3 separate regions of the Homo sapiens genome follow, and regions 2 and 3 are each linked to region 1. The links are contacts of gene promoters, found by promoter capture Hi-C in human tissues and cell types (Jung and others, 2019). All regions are on one chromosome and are shown on one strand. The core of a region is centred on a gene start or on the middle of the fragment in contact, and the rest is flanking DNA. Distances in the headings are between cores, read along the strand shown. Region 1 holds the start of PCDH7 (protocadherin 7). Region 2 overlaps PCDH7 (protocadherin 7). Region 3 overlaps PCDH7 (protocadherin 7).

What was found. Contacts are between HindIII fragments. The study calls those that stand out against the background at their distance.
Region 2: a contact is called between a fragment that was not itself captured here and the fragment with the promoter of PCDH7 in region 1, in 1 of the 25 tissues and cell types used here (aorta).
Region 3: a contact is called between a fragment that was not itself captured here and the fragment with the promoter of PCDH7 in region 1, in 1 of the 25 tissues and cell types used here (hippocampus).

Annotation. Positions count from the first base shown.
Region 1 is chr4:30,718,345-30,722,131 of GRCh38, forward strand. PCDH7 (protocadherin 7) reads left to right here and starts at 2,025. Exons shown (of 3, transcript NM_001173523.2): 1 at 2,025-3,787. The coding sequence starts at 3,079. LOC124900844 reads right to left here and starts at 777. Exons shown (of 1, transcript XM_047416545.1): 1 at 1-777. RefSeq lists an enhancer at 2,834-3,544. The HindIII fragment of the contact is 10,727 bases long and covers 1-3,787 here.
Region 2 is chr4:31,069,980-31,073,766 of GRCh38, forward strand. The region is part of intron 2 of PCDH7 (protocadherin 7); the gene reads left to right. Among named protein-coding and RNA genes, the nearest start is that of LINC02497, 99 kb to the right of the region's middle. The HindIII fragment of the contact is 5,052 bases long and covers 1-3,787 here.
Region 3 is chr4:30,985,847-30,989,633 of GRCh38, forward strand. All of the region lies in intron 2 of PCDH7 (protocadherin 7), which reads left to right. Among named protein-coding and RNA genes, the nearest start is that of LINC02497, 180 kb to the right of the region's middle. The HindIII fragment of the contact is 8,514 bases long and covers 1-3,787 here.

The DNA.
Region 1 (3,787 bases), core at 775-3,274:
CATCTACGATCCCCTGTAGGGAGAGCTTGGAAATCTCTGCCGCCTCTCCCTCCTCATTCCTGTTCCTGCGCCCGCCCAAACAACCGCGCGCTACATCTGCTCGTTGACTTTATTGGTGTTTGTCTTGTTTAAATCATTCTGCCTCGTCACCCAGGTCTCGTAAAGAATACCCACACTGGACAGATTTTATTTTTTCGGCTTTAAATTTTTCTTTGAGGGGAGGCCCTTAAATGTGTATGGATACGTCAGGCGAGCTGAAGACTAAGCAAATCCCAGCAGCGGCCCTTTCTCTCTTTCGAGATGGTAAAAATTCTCCCCAAATACCTACAGTCCGTCTCAGTCGTCTTAATCCTAGCCGGGCCTCTTCGTTTACAGCCACTGAAATAAATGAGTAAATGGCTCAGTTCAAAAACACAACCAGACCTGAGATCTGATGAGGCCGGCTGCGGTGGTCGTGAATGAAAATTGGAGAAGCCTTGCTTCAGGAAATAGGGACAGTCAAGGGACACAAAGTCAAAAGGAGAGATGGGAAAGCTGGGGACACTTTGGTACACAAAGTTGCCATTAAAGTTTATTTCCCTTTTATCCAGATAGGTGACGCTACACTTTGCCAGTTACTAAAGGCTGCAGGTTTCTGCTCAGAAAATAATATCGAGGTTTCCAACATGTGTTTATTCCCCAGGCGCGCACACACGGTCTACCCCCGCAAGCAAGCACGACGACAGGAATGTCAAGCATTTAAACAAAGACAGACATCCTTCACCCTCCACCCACCGCCGCCCCTGCCCCCCGCAACCATCCAAAGTCTGAGCTCCCAAAAAAGGATCTTTCTCCAGCTCTCTGGAGTTTGATGTTCTCTCTTCACTACTGCAGCCCGTCATGGTTTTTCAGAACAGAGTGGCTTTCTGGGCGCTCGTAGGTTCCCCAGGACCCCGATAACCATGTCCTAACCAAGATCCTAAATCGCGAACCGGAGACACTTTCCGGGGGGAGGAGGACGTCGTCTGAGAGGGAGGGAGAAGGAGAAACCTATCCTGACACCAGCTCCGAAAGCTCTCACGCGTGAACTGGGCATTAGTCAAGGGAGGAGGAAATTTACCAGCCCGAGGGAGGGAAAACAAGTCCCCCAGAGAAGACGGCGGTACTCGCTAGGGAGGGGGACTGGGCTTTGGCTTAAAGAGGACTGGCTGGGATTGGGCACACTTTGAGCGGCCCCTGGAGCTGAGGCTGGGCTTTCCCGAGCGCGGCGGCTGGCTGACGCTCCCTCCCGCCTCCTTATCCCGGGCCCTCCTCCCTCGCTCTCTCCTAGTGTGTAGTTTCGGCGGCTCGGCTGCTACTGCCGCCGCCGCTGCAGCAGCAGCGTCAGGGACAAGCCTGATCCGTGAGCGAGCGAGCACCCAGCAGCAACCACCACTTTGGGCAACTTGCGGGTTTCCTGCTCGCGGGTAGCGAACGGGAGATTCCCACTAGCGGTTCAGTGTCTCCGAGCCGCTGCAGCCCGAGGGGCGGCGGGAGCGCCCGCACCAGACTCTCCCAGACGCGAAAAGGGACGAGACAACTGCGGAATTCACCAGCCGTGCCAGGGCACTTCCGAGGCCACAACCGACTGACACTTTTTCTCCCCTTGGCAAACTGGATTTTTTTTTTTAAGCTACTTGGCAGCTGTCTCTGACTCCACCTCCCCCTCCACCCCCGCCCGAAAGCCTTTGGCTTTTCTTCGGAAATCCAGACAGAATTGGGCATCTTTGTTAATTGCCGTTGGGGACGCCCGGCCGTGCGCTTTCGCCGGCTAACGTCGCCTGTGCTCCGAGCCTGGTTTGCTCACCTTTGAACTGCAAAGGGATCAAGTTCAGCTTGAGTTCCCTGCATTGGGAAGGAGAGAGAGCGTGCAAGAGAGCGAGTGGGAGAGGGGGAAAGGGGAAAGGAGAGGAGGGAGGAGAGAGAGGAGGGAGGAGAGAGAAAGGGAGGGAGGGAGGGGAGGGATCGAGAGAGAGCGGGGAGAGAGAGGCTGCAATCTCCTCCCTGAATCGCGCACAGCGCTGCAGATCCCACTGCTCCGACATGCGGGCCGAATGCAGGTGAGAAAAGGCACGGACTCTGCGGCTGCGAACCCAAACTTGGGCACCGCACGGTGCGCACTGCTCAGCCTTCGCCCCCGTGGGCGAAAGGCTGCTGCGGTTTCAGGCGGCTGCTTCGTGACTAATGACCTTGCGCAGAGTTGTTAAGAAAAAAGAGAAACCCGCGCTCTCCGGGGTGAGAAGGGACTGACTCTGGGCGTCTCTGAAGATGGCTCGGGCTTCTCTTTGGCGCGCCGGGGGGACCCTGACACTGACCGCTCTGTGACGCGAGTAGTCTCCCCTGCACCGTGCCCGAAGCGACGTGCCGGGGGATTTTTCATTCTCGATCTGTTGACTGGCTCCCCCGCTGCATGAGCAGAGTCGGAGTTGAGACTGGCTTGTTGCTGGCCCCAGCGCCTGGTGCAGGAAGCGACTCACGTTTGTCTGGGTGGCCGGAGCCGGAGCAGAGCCTGGGTTTGGAGTGAGTGCCTGGAACGTGAATTGGACTCAACTCGAGTAGCAGCAAAGACCAGCGGGCTGGCAGGCGGGGGAGGCTGCAGGCTCATTCCCCACCTCTTCCCAGCCCCACTGCCCGTCTGCCGGAGCGGTTCTGGCCCCTTCCGACAGAGCGGGGACTAGAGCCGGGGATTCTCCGCCCGCTGAGGGGATGACTCTGGGTTGGGGGAGCGCCGAACCCGCGGCGCGCAGTGTCCCGTGAACTGTGAGTACTGCGACTGAACGGCGGCAGGCGAGCGGGCGATTAGCACCCATTGCATGAATTATGAAACAATAACTTTCGGAAGAAGCAGGAGGAAAAAAAGAAGCATCTATCGCTGCCCTCCCACCCCCATTCCCGGCCAACTCTCCACGCCGCTTTTGCCCCCTCCCTCCCCTCCCTCTCGCTCCTTCCTTTCCGGGAGAGGGGAGAGGACTCGGGGGAGGGCAGGCGGCCGGCCCCGGAGGAGGGGGGCGCCGAGGGGGCTGTGGTTAGAAGGAGCAGTAGCAGCAGCAGCAGGAGAAGATGCTGAGGATGCGGACCGCGGGATGGGCGCGCGGCTGGTGCTTGGGCTGCTGCCTCCTCCTGCCGCTCTCGCTCAGCCTGGCGGCCGCCAAGCAGCTCCTCCGGTACCGGCTGGCCGAGGAGGGCCCCGCCGACGTCCGCATCGGCAACGTGGCTTCAGACCTGGGCATCGTGACCGGATCGGGTGAGGTGACTTTCAGCCTGGAGTCCGGTTCCGAGTACCTGAAGATCGACAACCTCACTGGCGAGCTGAGCACGAGCGAGCGGCGCATCGACCGCGAGAAGCTGCCCCAGTGTCAGATGATCTTCGACGAGAACGAGTGCTTCCTGGACTTCGAGGTGTCGGTGATCGGGCCCTCGCAGAGCTGGGTGGACCTGTTTGAGGGTCAGGTCATCGTGCTTGACATCAACGACAACACGCCCACCTTCCCGTCGCCCGTGCTCACGCTCACGGTGGAGGAGAATCGGCCGGTGGGCACACTTTACCTGCTGCCCACAGCCACCGACCGCGACTTCGGCCGCAACGGCATCGAGCGCTACGAGCTGCTCCAGGAGCCCGGAGGCGGCGGCAGCGGCGGCGAGAGCCGGCGCGCCGGGGCGGCCGACAGCGCCCCCTACCCCGGGGGCGGCGGGAACGGCGCGAGCGGCGGCGGCTCGGGAGGCTCCAAGCGGCGGCTGGACGCATCAGAGGGCGGCGGCGGCACCAACC
Region 2 (3,787 bases), core at 771-3,270, 350 kb after region 1:
TACTTTGAGTGCATTATTGAGATCTTTAGATTAACTGAGAAGGTAACTTGTCTTGTATTCAATCTGTGAATGATTGATCTACTCACACTTAATTTTAAACAGTAAATGTATTCCGTGCCTAAAGTGAATTTTCCTTTCCATTGAATGCTGAATTGATACAAAGTAAATTCTAGAAAAATATGAAATATGCATGTGTGTACGAGAATAAATTCTTCATATTTCCACCTTAGATATTCTCAAATGTTCACTTTACCTATAGTAGGATTTATCGATTGACAAATACACAGGCTCATTCAACAGTGTAATTTTTGAGATATTTCACTGAAACAAAATGGGCATAATTATTTAGACGGACATCTGACAATGAATACTTTTCAGACTTGGCTGGGTAATGTTTTTAGCATCACTGATCCAGCAAGATCCAATAATACGACTGACTTTTTGTTTAATAGAATTCCCTCTAGAATGTTCTACTCCATTAGTAAAAGGGAGTTGCTCAAGTTACATAGATATGTTCTCAAGGACATTGGCTAATAAAACACAGACATTTGTGTCTAGATGCTGAATGTTTATATGCAGACATTTGCTCAAGCAAACCATTCTCTAAATATATAAGTTGTGTTAACAAAATGATTACTGTATTAGACTTACTCAGACCTAATCATATTTTTTAAATTACTGTAGCCTATGGAAATATTTCTTCCCAAATATAGAATTGTTTTATATATTTAGGTTACTTTGCAAAGACTATAACAACATTCATAAAAACAATCAAAAGAATACATTATCAGAAGTCACTTTGTAGAAAATAGAGGAAGTTTTATTAATTTTTGTCCCAGACTTTTATATTCTACAACTTAGTATGTTAGATTCATGAAGATGAACAAATATAGGTATTTGTTAATGCAGTGCTGCAAAGTAGTGGCATTCAGAATTATATCAAACACAATTTATACAGGGCCATCCAAAAAAGACATTATGCAGTGTTTAGCTGAGTTTGTATAAAATACTACAGCTGTCTCTAGGATGCCTTTCCCTTGTGGAAAAAAGCTTAATTCTGCCAAGGCAAGAGTGCAGGGCCCCTTCTTGCCCTTATTTGCTTTTAGAGACTGACACTGTCAAGTTGATAAATGGTCTTTGACAGAAGCAAAGGTAATTCAAAGCTCATTCACAGGTAGAATAGTCTTTAATAGATTCTTTTTTAAAACTCTCTGGTGGAGAAAAAATATATAGAGGGAATGCCTAGTATTAACTCACCGTGAGGCTGTTATTCTCCCAAAACCCAAAAACCCATAGTCTCTGTACAGCTATATTTTTGTCATTCTATCATGTTTACTGTGTACATGTGTGTCTGTTGTTTACAAACAAGCTTATTTATTTTGTATCCATATGAAAGAAAATCAGTGTTTAATTAAGAAAAAAATCTTTGGTTGAAATGTTGTGTGCTTTTTTTGCAGGAGAGGGGGCAGCCTTTCATAAACTGAATAACGTTGAACATATATTTGACAAGCTCACCCTATCATAATGATGCTTTGGAATTACAGAAAAGAGTTGAAGGTTTTAGTAAATGCAGGCAAATTTTAGTTCTATTCTGTTTGCTTTTGATGTTTGGCAAATCAATTCATTAGTGATAAAATAATGGGGTAAGTCAGCAGAGAAAGCTCAATTCATTGCATTTATCCCACCCACCATAGTTCATCTGCAGAGTGGTTGCTCTGATTGTGTTAGATCATATTCCCATCATCCTCCCAGGCAGAGATCCCTCGCATTTCATTTAGGTTTATTCCTTTTGTTCTTTTCAAAAAAGACTCAGGAATACAGCATTGAGAAAGCTTTTCCTGCAGTGTTAAGGAAATTCTCTAATTAATGGTAGATACAAATGACAGGATACATGCTTTTCTGGTTATTCTGAAGGTGGTGAGAACACTATTTAGTTGCTATTACTTTTATATTAGCTCGTATAAATAACTACTCTTATACTAAACCAGTATCAGAGCTATGAGTCATGTTTACTGTCTTCGCTTTTCTAAGCTTGGACATGTAATGAAGTTAATTTTCTTTGGAAGACAGTGTTGGAGTGATCTACAACACTCACATGGCTGCACACTAGCACACCTCTAAGAAAAAAAATAGAACTGATTGAAACCCTAAGGCAATCATTTTGGCAAATAAAAATGACCAATTCAATGAAGGGCTTTTCTGGGTTTCATCATATTTGGTAGAAATAATATGTTAAATCTTTTTTAAATGCATACAGGAAAAGAATTATAATTACATCAGTCATTCTGTTGAGCACTGCAGTTGCATCACCCTGAGATATGTAGTCATGCATATATCTAGAGGAGAGTGGTATAAATAAGATCATATATGTCTCACTTAAAGAGCCTGTAAATGTATAGATGTGTAAAGACTCATGCATGAATAATTATGCTTTAATATAAGCAAACATAATGTGGAAAGAGATAATTTTTTTTAAAAAAGGAGGCATTGACAATGTGAGCATAAATACAGAGGAAAGAAGCAGGCTTTTGAACTAGGTGCCAATAAAAGCTTCTTGGAGGAGTCACCATTTTAGAAATTGGAAGATGTGTAAGATCATGTAGAGTTGCTGGTGGAAGGGGGCAACTTTAAGAGTGAGGAACACCATGTATGAAGATATGAAGGCCAGAAGTCCGAGAACGTTTCACAGAGTTGTGTTATCTCAATCACATTACTCACATCACATTATTGGAATGTGTCAAATATAAGAATGGAATGATGGCTGACATATTCACCCATTAATTCACTCATTCATTGAGTTCATGGAGTTCCTGCAATGGGTTGTAAGAACTCAATGAAATCAATGGGTGAGTGTAACACTAGAAAAACGTTCAGAAATGAATAAAATATAGCAGCTGTGTAGGGGTCATTCTTTAGTGCGGAGTATGGAAGGAAAAACAGATAATCAAAAGGCAGTATAATAAATTCTCAAGTTGGAGCTTTCACAGAATATCATGGAAGTAAAACACATGTCCCAGCTAAATCTACTTGAGAGAATCAGGAAAAAATTAACAGAGAAGCTGAATGTGGCCTAGATCCTGAAGAGTATGTAAATATTATAGTAGATGGAGAGTGTGAGATGAACAGTCAAAGCAAGTGAAATAAGTATTTGTAAATGCAAACAGGTATAAAAGGGCATAGTTTTTTGGGGTAGAAGGCCTTGATTACTGTGCTTAGGGGATTAGATTTGCTACATAGCATTACATCATTGAAAGCATCTGAGCAGAGAAGCAAAAAGATCTTATTTGAATGTTAGAACCATTGATTTATAGCACACATAAATAAACAAAATAGATTGCTGTATACTCAACCCACTGATATTTAATATCTTCTAAGTTATGATGATATCTTAGACCAAGTAGAGATTATAATGTGTCAATCATTACAAAGAACTGAAGAATCCATCTGCTATACTATTAGCTCAACTGACTCATCATTACTTAGTCTAATATAAACCTCTTAATTTCAAGGAAAACAGAATAATTAAAGGGATAATAACTCATAGCAGGTCATGTGCAGTTTAGTGACTACATGAAAGACTTCTGAACAAGACTATGGCATCTACCTAAGTCCACTGAATATGATAATATCAAAAGAAGCATATATGTCATATATAATAGTAGTTCCTCTGGCCTCTGCCCAACCACGGATCAAGACTGAATACTAATCAATGATGTATAATCATTACATGGTGGGATTATTTCACTGTTTGCATACACAATTTTATAACACAAACCTTAGTATTTAT
Region 3 (3,787 bases), core at 903-3,402, 270 kb after region 1:
GCTAGATAATTTTAAATATTCCATTGTCTTTTCATCAAATTTTATCTCTTTTGGTTTATTTAGATTTAAAATAACAACAATAACAACAACAAAATAGATGCACTACCATCCTCTGACCCTGTAACAACAATGGTGTGTTACACCCCAAGACTATCATAATTATTGTGACTTTTTAAATTCAAAGCTTAGTCTTTTGTAAGAATCACCTTGAAAAGCAGGATAATTTTTACCTGAAATAGTTAAAAGACTTGAGATATGCATTTTCAATTCTTTCTAAAACCAAGAAAAATTAATCTGCATATGGAATTCTTCTTTAAAAGTTGAAATTTTCCTTCTAGTATGGAGTCTGAGACATCTAACTTACAGTTTCTTTTGGCCTGCAATTGATTTCTCCTTGCCTACTAAATGATAACTGCTGATGACATTAATATTCAGGTCTGTCCTTTCTTCCCAAGAGGTCATTTTTAGTCTTTTAAAAAAAATTAGTCTATTTTCTCCTGAGAATAATTATTTCCCATGAAGATGGTTTGTAGCTATGAGTGCCTTTCTTAAAAGCACACAGAAAAGCAAAAAACAAACAAACAAGGAAAAAACCCACCTATTTCTACATAAGCATAAAATGATTCACTATTATATAGATATTGTAGCAAATCTGAAAAGCCAAACCAGTCAGAGACGTGTAGATAATCCTGGTTTCACCTCCTCCCACCAAGAAAAGTCTAATGACCTTATAATATCATTATGAAGAAATGGTTGAACAATGACAAAGGTGATCTTTGCACAATTTGATTTTTCTTATCTGAAATTTAAAACTGTTTTATTATAATCAGAATCCGTTTGAAAATGTCTTTATTGGCCGGTCGCGGTGGCTCATGCCTGTAATCCCAGCACTTTGGGAGGCCGAGGTGGGCGGATCACGAAGTCAAGAGATTGAGACGATCCTGGTCAACATGGTGACATCCCGTCTCTACTAAAAATACAAAAATTAGCTGAGTGTGGTGGTGGGCGCCTGTAGTCCCAGCTACTCAGGAGGCTGAGGCAGAAGAATCACTTGAACCTGGGAGGCGGAGGTTGCAGTGAGCCGAGATCACGCCACTGCACTCCAGCCTGACGACAGAGCGAGATTCCGTCTCAAAAAAAAATAAGAAAGATAGTATCTTTATCTTTGGGCATAACATTCTACAATACAGTGTGACATTTTACACCTACAGGGAAATCACAGTATTCATAGATCATAAATTAGAGAAATTGGTCCTTTTTCTAGTCCATTCCTTTATGATTTTATGATGAGAAAGCTAATACATATTATTCTTCTACACTACTCCAAAATCTTCTTAAAATTAAACAAACAACAACAAAAACAAAACTTAATCCAAGTATATCATGTAATTAATTTACAGATCACCTAAGTAAGAAGGTTAGGAAAAAGTAATAATCCATATCTATTTTATACCAGGTTTTTACTTGAAAATCTTTTTTTTTTCTTATTTACATATTACTGGTATGTCTTTTTTGTAAGGACACCCAGCGACTGCCTCAAAAGCTTCTAAGTACAGACGTCAAGTTGGCTCCATGAACCTCATTTAATAGCTATAAAATGAGGTGGATATTATTCATAGTATCTCTGGGAAGTTTTGCCATTAGTAATTCTTGAATTATTTTACATAATTTTAAATCATGAAAATGGCTTGTATAATAGTATTTTTCTCACCTGTATTCTCTGCTTCTCAGGTGGCTGAGGCAGGAGGAACGCTTGAATCCAGAAGTTCTAGTCCAGCCTGGGGAACATAGTGAGAACTTATCTCCAAAAAAAATCAGTTTTCTTTTTTCTAGGGGCCTATATAGAATTAAAATAAATGTGAATACATTTATTTCTGATATATTTTTGGAAATATTTTGAGACATAATAGTACCATAAGAATATTTTTATTTTTAAATATTAGTTGGAATATGAAACAACGAAATAAAATATTGGTGCATAGTCATACTAATGAAACCTAAGAAATACTTTTCTTATTAGGGCAATTTAGGAGTGTGTGCCAAGGAGGAAAGAACCCTAGAAGTATATTAGGGGACATTTAATTTCTAGGGAGGGTATTGTACTGCAAATGGTGGTCACTCACCAGGTCACTGTCAAGATGAGACTGAGCTAAGGCAAGAATATAAGTTATTTTAAAGGCCAGATTTGCATCTGTGAAAACATGCTGTTCCCTAGAAAGCACACAGACATGAGTTGCATAAAAATACTCATTTGTAAAAATTGTGTGTTTTATTCAGTTTGGCCATCTGAATCACCACGTGAGAAAGGAATATGAAAACGTTAGACATCATGGTAGGCAGAAACTGCACGATAGTACCATGTGATAGGAAATGAGGGATGCATACTGCAGAAAACACATTATTTTGGCATGTTTCTGCCCACAAGTGTATCAACTCCATTACATTTTTCTGTATGATGAATTACTGAGAATAATTAGACTCAGAATATTGTAATATATTAGTTAGATAGATGGGTAGACAGAATAGTCACCTACATACTCTTAGTTATAAACAGTTGTAAACACTATAGTCTGAATTAAACAGAATTCTCAGTTTATGAGAAGCCCAACATTTTCCATATGCACTGTCATATTCCATTTTTTCTAATATTCATATTTCATTAGCATTTAGTACACAGGCCTTGGATTGTTGAAACAAGAAATATAAATATATTCAATTTCTATATTTGTGAACTATTTATCATTTAAGTTATCATCAAGGCCGAGTTAGTTTTGTTTAAGACACTAAATCAATTTAAATCCCACCTCTTTTACTTTTGATATGCAAATATTTTTACTTTGATGTTGTAGCAATACAAATTGAAGTTTGCAACATGAACTGCTAATGCTAATTTGATTACTTTTGTATTAGTGTTTAGTGTTACAAAAATAACAAGAGATTATTTTTTAAATGAAACTGGGAATGGAAGAACTCTTTCTTTGCAGGCCCTGTGCAATGATGGTAGTATTAATGCATGTACATTAATGCCTGATGATTCTTATAGAACAATGAATGTGATTTTGAAGGCAAATCATTCAAGATTTTTAGAAAAACTGACAGCTTGATTTCTCTTTTTTAATTGAAAGTTCATCAAAAAGTCCTCACCTTCCTTTTTAACAGGTCAGAGACTTCAAATCTACTTAAAATATTTGTTGTAGATGATTTAGACCACAATTTATTTTTAGCATTAAAAATGTTTTATGTGAAGACAAGGTGCCTGAATTGTGAATGCAAAACTTTTTGGACAGAATCAAATCACAGTTTTTTTTTTCCAGAAACTTGTTTCTTAGATTATTTGATTTATTTGATAAAGTTGAAGAGATTTCTCATGATCTGTCACAAGAATGGTGTAAATATCTGACTGCAAAACAAGCTAAGATAGGTACTCCTAAAACCTGTTGAAAAACAATTTTTTCTCTTTCTCTTTTTAAATAGTACTTATGAATGGTATCTCTCCAAATATATACATCTCACTAGTACATATAGCTATATAATCTGTAAGATATCCCAGTGATGGAGCTGCAGTAATATCGGCCACCTGTAGTGTGCCTGCAGCGTGCATGTTGCTTGTCTGTTTCTTGATGAAATGTCTGTGTAGTGTCTGTAATTTGCATTATGCCTGAAAGTCTCTATGCTCATTAACCTTTTACAGGTGCCGCACCATTCCAAGGAACTGCAGGTACTAAAAGAATGGGCAGTACTTACAAAGTAGAGGCACAGAACCCTTGTGAGCTCTAACCTCTCCTTT